Linked DNA regions of Homo sapiens: region 2 is linked to region 1. Evidence: promoter capture Hi-C in human tissues and cell types (Jung and others, 2019). All regions are on one chromosome and are shown on one strand. The core of a region is centred on a gene start or on the middle of the fragment in contact, and the rest is flanking DNA. Distances in the headings are between cores, read along the strand shown. Region 1 holds the start of DOK6 (docking protein 6). Region 2 has its middle 42 kb from the start of DOK6.

Evidence for each region. The method cuts DNA at HindIII sites, captures the fragments that hold promoters and counts their contacts. A contact is called where the count stands out against the background at its distance.
Region 2: a fragment that was not itself captured here is called in contact with the fragment with the promoter of DOK6 in region 1 in 1 of the 25 tissues and cell types used here (aorta).

What each region holds. Positions count from the first base shown.
Region 1 is chr18:69,398,916-69,403,308 of GRCh38, reverse strand. DOK6 (docking protein 6) reads right to left here and starts at 2,421. Exons shown (of 8, transcript NM_152721.6): 1 at 1,999-2,421. The coding sequence starts at 2,064. The HindIII fragment of the contact is 8,036 bases long and covers 783-4,393 here.
Region 2 is chr18:69,356,446-69,360,929 of GRCh38, reverse strand. No RefSeq gene overlaps it. Among named protein-coding and RNA genes, the nearest start is that of DOK6, 42 kb to the left of the region's middle. The HindIII fragment of the contact is 4,729 bases long and covers 1-3,744 here.

The DNA.
Region 1 (4,393 bases), core at 1,172-3,671:
TACATACTCAGTTTTTGTTGTGTGAAATCCTGGAGGGCTTGGATGGGGTGGAGGGGAATCCTATAGACTCCAGGGCCAAGTGCGCAGGAAGGGGATGCTCAGGCTACATTCTTCAGTCTCATTTTCATATGCAGGTGACTCTGTGAACGCAGACATACATCTTGTCTGGGACTTAACTCATCCATTAGTTTATATAGTCTGAGGCATCAGATACAATTGCGATTTCAAGAAGATCAAAGGCCGAGAAAAATGATCAAGCATCCAGTCGTAAAGCAAAGGGCTTCAAAGGTCAAGCTAAGAAGACGACTCCCTTCCACCTCCAGCTCTGCACCTCCCTTGGCTGACAGCTGTGTGGTGACAGACTTGAGCATTCCGTCCCGGCTGCGAGGAACAACCAGACTCCTGGAGAACCGCAGCTTTTCCCGTGGGTTCGTCCTTATATGCCTGGAAAAGAATGAGGCGCTTTCTTCTACCCAAGAAAAGCCCTTGAAACCTGGCCGAGGATCTGACTCTGGCGCCTGCTCTCTCTCGCCTTGGTGGGGCTCACGGCAGCGCACGTTGGCTCCAGGCTGGAGGAAGGGGGGCGTTGCTGTCACCCAGCTCCGCACTCGCTCTTGCAGCCTCCCAGCCTACTACAGAGCTGCTGAAGTTCCAGAATGGGCCCCTGTTGTCCTTGGGGTACAGTCTGCACCTTTAATGCGAAACCCAGCAGAGGCAGCACCAAGAGTCAAGTCTGCCTTTCCCGTCCTCCTGTCCCCAACACCTGGCGCCGCCAACTCCCGACAAAGCGACTCCTGGTGCTTGGTGATCTGCCCTCTTTCGGGGATTCTACCTTATCTTTCTTCCACTCTCTAACACTACCCTTCTTTTGCTTTCTTTTTTACACAAAAATTAGCAAAGTCCTCCCCTCTTTTTCCCCTTCTCCAAGTTGGAGGATTCATCCAGTCATCAGGGAACACAGGAAAGGTTCTAGCTCAAGGACCCTTTGCCCCGGGAGGCAGGAGCTTGGTAGAACTGGAAGTTGGAGAACAGTGAGGTAGACACAACCAGAGTCTGGAACAGGGGCCCTTTCTTTCCCAGACGAGTTTCCCCTCGCTTTTCTGGACCAGCCAGCCGGGGTCAGCCTCCCAGGCCACCCTACATCGCGCGCTCCCCAGGGACCTCCTGCCCATCCCTCCATCCTCTCTCTCGCGTCCCAAGTCTAGGCTGCTCCCGCCCAGGTGACAGCCCCTCCTGTCCCGCTGCCTCCCGTGAGTCCCTCCTACCGCCTCGTCTGGTCACTAGAATAGTTTTGAACCCTTGGGTTCTACACGGTTTCCCTCCCAAGCCAGGCAGCGCATCTCTCAAGAATAGGGAAAGGTCTCCATCAACTTTGCCGTCACGGAGCAGTGACCGCGGGCGGGCGCGGGGCACACACCTGCCTGCACGCGGGCGCGGGTCCCCGGGTAGGGGAGCACTTGCGGGGCGCGGGAGCCGCCCTCGGCCACGGCGAAGGCGCCCTAAACTACAGCCGGCAGGGACGCGCGGCGCTGGGAGGGCATCAGACGGGAATTTCGAATTGAGCTTGGGAAGCGGAGACCAGAAAATGGTGATTCTAAACACACGCGAGCGTCGCCACACACAGCAGTTCCACCCGAAAGGCGCACACTTTTGAGAACAGACCATCGTGGATAGCACCGCAAAGAAACCTCCTCCAAGGCACGTTCCTCGTTGGAACTGACAACCCCTTTCGTCTACTGACTTCCCCGCACGGTCGAAGACAGCCCGGTGCACTCGAGGATGGGGACTCAGGCGCTCCTGGAGTCCCCAGGTCCGTCTGCGGAGCCCCCCGGCAGGTGTGGGCCCCCACCTGGCCAAGCAACAAGCGGGCCATCCGCCTAAGGGCCGGGTCCCTCTCTGCCCTGTACCCGCACGGGTCACCTCTCCCTGCCCCCCCCCCAGGCAGCCAGCCGGGCCGAACGAGCGCCGGGGAAGGAGCAAGCCGAGCGAGCCACTCACCCCAAGCTTCCTGCTGCGGATTTTCACGTAGCCCTGCTTGACTATGTCGTTAAAGTTGGAGGCCATGGCCAGCGCGATCGGGCTCCTGCGCCCCGCGATCCGCTCTCCGGAGTCGAGAGCCGCCGTCCGCCGCCGGGTCTGCGCGGGTCTCGCATCCAGCCGGCCGCCGCCAGCAGCAGCGCCGCCGCCCGCTCTTCCCCGAGCTCCCGCCGGTGGGGACGCGGGGTCGCCTGCAGGGCCGCCGCGGACGGGGAACGGGGCCCGGCGCCGCGAGCCGCGCCAGCCCTCCGCGTTCTGGCGCTCACCTTCGCTCCCCGCCGCGAGCCCAGCGCCGCGGCCCGCGCCTCCGCCAGCTGCGGGAGCCCCCACCGCGCCGCCGCCCCCGGCAGCACCCACGGGCTGGCGCCTCGCTCGGCGGCGCACAGCTGGCCGGAGCGCACCACCGCGGCTCCCCGGCGCGGGGGGAGGGGGCGGGCCGGGGGGGGCGGGCTGATGCGCCGGCCCCGCTCCCTCCCCCTGGCCCGTGGGGTGGCTGGGCTCGGAGACGCTCGCAAGACGCGCTCCATCCCTCTCCGCGCGGGTGGGAGCGCCTCCGCCGCCGGGCGCCCCGAGGCCCGCTCCCCACCCGGCTCCCCGGTCCCTCAGCGCTCCCCGGGCGCGAGATTCCTAAGGACACGGCGCCTCATTCCCGGGCTCTAAATCTCCACTCGCAAGCTGTGCAGCGGGGAAAGGGCAGTGGGGACACTTCCAACGCGGAAGGCCAGCGGGAGCGAGACACTTATTTCATTGGCCTTGTTTACAGTACATTTTTATTCCCAAGCACTCGCGGCCGTTCCAGGTCTCTGCCCCGTTAGGAAGTGTAAATCGACGCCAGACCCTTCCTGGTGCACACAAAGAGACCAATCGTGCGCATGTGTCTAATCCTCCCGCAGCCTAGAGACAGGCAGGCGGGCGAGGCAGCCGGGCGCCGACGTCCTCTGCTGAAGGAGTGGAGAAGACCGACCGACCCGAGTGGTTGATTTATGCATGCGTTTTCGTTAACTAGGACTGAAAGTGGCTCCTGGCTCTTCTGGGAAAATGGAGAACGTGGTTGTTATCAATGGATACCAATGACTTCCTGAAATGCTCAACTTGTACAAACAAAAAATGAAAAACTTTCTCCCCTTAATGTAGAAACACATGGCATTTTAAAAGTAGGTTTTTCATTATTGTAAAGATGTTTTAATTTTTAGGATTATGTTTTTGTGAAAGATTCGAGGAAAAAGAGCGATGTTGAGTTTTGGCCGGAGGCAACATATGGATTTTTACTATAGGCTAGAACATTTAGTACTTACTTCTAAGGATGTTTCTAATTAGTAAAATGTATAAAGATTGACAATTTTTAAGGTGACTCCTGCAAGAGTTATATTTAGTAAAAGTTCAAAAGATGATGTTTGTTTATTACGGTGAGCAGTATTTTTCCAGGTTCTCATTTAAAATTTCCTACCCCATTTGAAACACAATAATAGAAAGAAAGGAAACTTACTTGAATGAGGTTGTGGGGGGAATGTAAAAACTTGAAGGACAAGGTAGCTCAGTCCAACCAGATGAGCATCCAAGGGAGATTTTTGTCTCATCCTTTGCAGAAATCTCCATCTAGAGCCCGTGTAAACCAATGGAAATTCTTACTTGCTTTAACAGCACACTATTCCTATTCATTCATTAATGTGGGCTAGCCTTTTTTTTTTTTTAAATAAAAAAACCTTCCACCGTGCAAAGTACCAGATGCTGGGGCAGATCAGATACTAAGGATAACATGGTAAAATCCTTTCCGCTGTCACTCTGGAATGGGCCCAAACTCTGACCTTCCCAGAAAATTTGCATAAACTCCCTGGAATGGGCTCAAGCTCTGACCTTCTCAGAAAATTTGCATAAACTCTCTGATAACTCCTTGTAATTCTTTCCTCTAAATACCTGGCACAGCTTGTCTATTCCACCCACTTCTTACTATTTCATACGCTGCATGGCCATTTTTTTTAGAAATGTAAAGACTGCTTTAGGTTTGTAAATGCTTTAAATAAGTGATTTCATTCAGCCCTCTTTGCAACCACATATGTTAAATGTGGTTGCCAGTTACTAGAGGAAATTGAGGCTCACAGACATTCAGTTGCAGAGCCACACGTTTCAAGATTGATTTGAGGTCTACAGTGATTTCTATGACCACTGACTCCTTCTCCTATTTATATAATCATCTGTTTCACAAGTCAATTATCAGTTCTTTGAAGTCAGGGATTAGTTTTGTCTCAGCAACAATCTTAGTGCTTACATAAGTAACAGGTGTGATCAATAATCGTAGCTTTTAATGATTATGTATGTGATCACTGTGCCTACATTCATGTTTATCAACGTCTTTGTA
Region 2 (4,484 bases), core at 131-2,630, 41 kb after region 1:
CCATTTCCCTTCCACACTGCTCTAGCAGAGGTTCTCCCATGAGAGCCCTGCCCCTGCAGCAAACTTCTGCCTGAGCATCCAGGCATTTCTATACATCCTCTGAAATCTAGGCAGAGGTTCTCAAACCTCAATTCTTTACTTCTGTGCACCCACAGGCTCAACACCACATGGCAGCTGCCAAGGCATGAGGCTTGCACCCTTTGAAACCACAGCCCAAGCTGTACCTTGGCCCCTTTTAACCATGGGTGGAGCTTCTGGGATGCAGGGCACCAAGTCCCTAGACTGCACACAGCACAGGGACCCTGGGCTTGGCCCAGGAGACCATGTTTTCCTCCTAGGCCTCTGGGCCTGTGATGGGAGGGGCTGCTGTGAAGATCTCTAACATGCCCTAGAGACATTTTTCCCACTGTCTTTGAGACTGACATTCAGCTCCTCATTACTTATGCAAATTTCTGTGGCCAGCTTGAATTTCTCCTCAGAAAATGGGATTTTCTTTTCTATGGCATTGTCAGGCTACAAATTTTCTAACTTTTATGCTCTGCTTCCCTTATAAAACTGAATGCCTTTAACAACATCCAAGTCACATCTTGAATACTTTGCTGCTTAGAAATGTCTTCCACTAAATACCCTAAGTTGCCCTTCTCAAGTTCAAAACAAATCTCTAGGGCAAGGGCAAAATGCTGCCAGTCTCTTTGTTAAAACATAACAAAAGTCATCTTCGCCCCAATTCCCAACAAGTTCTTCATTTCCATCTGAGACCACCTCGGCCTGGATTTTATTGTCCATTTTGCTGTCAGCATTTTGGTCAAAGCCATTCAACAAGTCTCTAGGGTGTTCCAAACTTTCCTACATTTTCCTGTCTTCTTCTGAGCCCTCCAAACTGTTCCAACCTCTGCCTGTTACCCAGTTCCAAAGTCCCTTCCACATTTTTGGGTATCTTTTCAGCAACACCCCACTCCTAGTACCAATTTACTGCATTAGTTGTTTTCAAGCTGCTGATAAAGACATAGAATGGGAAGAAAAAGTGGTTTAATGGACTTACAGTTCTACATGGCTGGGGAGGTCTCACAATCATGGCAGAAGGCAAGGAGGAGCAAATCACATCTTATGTGGATGGTGGCAGGGAAGGAGAGAGCTTGTGTAGGGAAACTCCCATTTTTACAACCATCAGATCTTGTGAGACTCATTCACTATCACAAGAACAGTGCAGGAAAGACTCACCTCCATAATTCAATCACCTCCCACCAGATTCCTCCCATGACATGTGGGAATTGTGGGGGTTATAATTCAAGATGAGATTTAGGTGGGGACACAGCCAAACCATATCAGGGGCTAAATCTAATCTTCCCAGAACAAGTCCCAAAAAGGCATCCACAGGACCAGGGCTGAGTTTAAAAGAAACAACTTAGTGAATGGAAGATGGAGGCCATGCTCTCTTCCAACCTCAGGAAGAGCCACGTCCCTTTTCACAACAGGGATATGATTAGGCACAAAGAATTTCCAGAACAGAAATTGTCTCAGATATATGCTAACCTCAGTGTGACAGCAGAAACACTTTTTCTTGCTTTCTCTTGTGGTCATGAGGAGAGGTTTTCACTAAATGACTTAAAACTATGGCACATATTCTTTCCACCCACAGAGAGGTGGAGAAAGTTAATCAACTGGGAAACTTGGGAAACATAATTAGGTGTGCATCATTCAATACCACCCTTTTGTCCTTTACGCATCAGCTGCCCACAGTGATGCCATATTTTCTTTTGCTGGAAAATGGCTGTTAAATGTGTTTAATTCTGAGGTTTACTTGACATCTGTTTCTTACCAAGATACACACTTCAATCGACCTTTAGTTATAAGTTGATGTTTTGACATACATAGTGGTAATTTATTCTCAAACTGTTTAGAATCTGCTACAGAGGTGTGATCTTTATTCTAGGATCTTTTATGGAAGGCTGTGAGCAGTAAGTTTTGCTATTCACATTTTAAAGAAGAAACAGAAACACAGAGTTTAAATTATGAAGTGTAGATCTCACAGATGGTAAGTAGATGAACTGTGACTTGAATCCATGTAATCCTACTCTAGAGACTGAATTCTTAACAACTATGTTCTATGGCCCTGGTGGAAAGTTTGCTTTGTGATAATGTTGCCAAAAACAAACAAAAAGGAATAAAAGCCCAGTGTCCTCAAGGGGGGCATGATGGAACTATGTTGAGCTGACTGAGACTTCCTTCCCTTTCATGACAACTCTGATCTCTCTCATCTTCTGGCTAATCTTTGGTCAAGGCTTAGGGGTTGCTAAATGTACGTGAAGCTTTGAGATCCTTTCTGTGGGTTGCTTGGAAAAAGCCAGTATCATCCTTTTGTTCCTCTCTCTGCAGGATAAACAAATCTCTGGAGACGAGTATTGGAAGACACTGGGAAGGGAATAGGAAGTTAGAAATCTTGGGAAGAGTTTTATCCACAGTGATCTGTGTCATCAAAAAAAGGAAGGTCGAGTTCAAACCACTGTATGTGTGTCTGATCGTTCTAGTCATGAGGACACTGAGAAGACGGAGCTTGTGGGAGCTGAGCCTGGGAAAATATAAACAGCCTGAGAATAGGAAGGGCTTCAAAATTTGGATAGATAGTCTGATAACGCCTAGCTTACAGGCCCTGCCTAGAATCTTGTGTGAACTCCTACCACTGAGGAACTATCACACTTAGGGTACTCTCTGGACTTCATCCTTAATGGATTTCCAGAGAAATATAAATTCTCTCAGATAGCCTGAGGGCAGAACACAAGGAAACCACACAGAGCAGATTAAAGCTGCTGGAAGAAGTAAGCAGCCTGAGAAAAATAGTGAGAATGCCTAAAAAGATTTAAAAGGAACCCACATACACACAAACATTATTTCTAGAGAGTAAAAAACAAATAATTTCTAACTAAATAAGTGGCTGATAAGTTCAAGTATGGTAATTGTTTGGTAGATTAAACGCAAACATTATTTAAAGCACAGGCAAGGTCAGGCTCAGTGGCACGTGCTTGAAATCCCAGCACTTTGGGAGGCTGAGGTGGGAGGATTGCTTGAGCTCAGGAGTTTGAGACTGGCCCAAGAAACATGGCAAAACCCCATCTCCAGTATAAATAGAAAAAGTAGCTGGGCATGGTGGTGCACACCTGTAATACCAGCTGCTTGGGAGGCTGAGGCATGAAAATCACTTGAACCCAGGAGGTAGAGGTTTCAGTGAGCCGAGATGGCACCGGTGCACTCCAGCCTGGGTGACAGAGCAAGGCTTTGTCTCAAACAAGAACAACAAAAATCCTAAAGCACAGGCAAAAATATTGAAGAGATTGAAACACACACAAATATGTATGTATACAAATATACATATCTATATCTATGTCTACCTATCCATCTATCTATCTACATATACACACACATTTCAAATCAATAGAACAAAGAAACCCACAGAAAAAAAAAGTTAGGTAATCTAGCATGTACTTTCTGGCAAAAAATAAAGTCTTATCTCAAGCATTGAGGTTTTCTTACCTCAGGCACTCTTTAAGTTGACCTCAGTCAAAGACTTAGGGTTAGGCAGTTTACTTGGGAGGTGATCCCAGAAAGCTCAGGTGTGGGAGGAGAGAACGTGAGAAGAGGGCGGGGAGTCTGGGGAACCAACCAAGAGTATGTTATGGAGATGGTTACTCTTGTGGGCAATTTGAATGCAATCCTGGGAACTCTCTTAAGAACCATGGAAAATGGGCCTCAGAATTATTCCTCCTGGACCAAAGAATCTGGGGCCCATGTGTTACATCTCACTGGTGAAGGGTTACTCTTGAGGAGACAGCAAATTCCCTGCAGTTGTGGGACTCCCTGAGCTTGGGCTGATTAAGCTCAAGAGAAGCATAAGGATGCTGGTAACTGGGGTGGGAACTTGTGAGTTTGCCATGGCTATAGGCAAAGTCTGTGGGAGATTTCTGGGATACCTAACAGGACATTAACTGTGTCTGGGGAAATATCGATGGTAACACTGAAGGTGCTTAAAACAAACTCAGATTTGAGATAAAAGTTATTATCTGGCCGGGCACGGTGGCTCATGCCTGTAATCCCAGCAGTTTGGGAGGCTGAGGCAGGCAGATCACGAGGTCAAGAGATCAAGACCATCCTGGCTAACATGGTGAAACCCTGTCTCTACTAAAAATACAAAAAATTAGCCAGCGTGGTGGGACGCATCTGTGGTCCCAGCTACTCGGGAGGCTGAGGCAGGAGAATCACTTGAACCTGGGAGGCAGAGGTTGCAGTGAGCTAGGATCGCACCACTGCACTCCAGGCTGGGCAACAGAGCGAGACTCTGTCTCAAAAAAAAAAAAAAAAGTTATTATCTTTTCACATTGAATGGAAATAAATCATAAAAAAGAAATCTGACATTTGGGTCCAAAATGATGACAATGATGCTGATAGTAATGATAATGATGACCATTACAGTAGTGAAATACTTATATGGT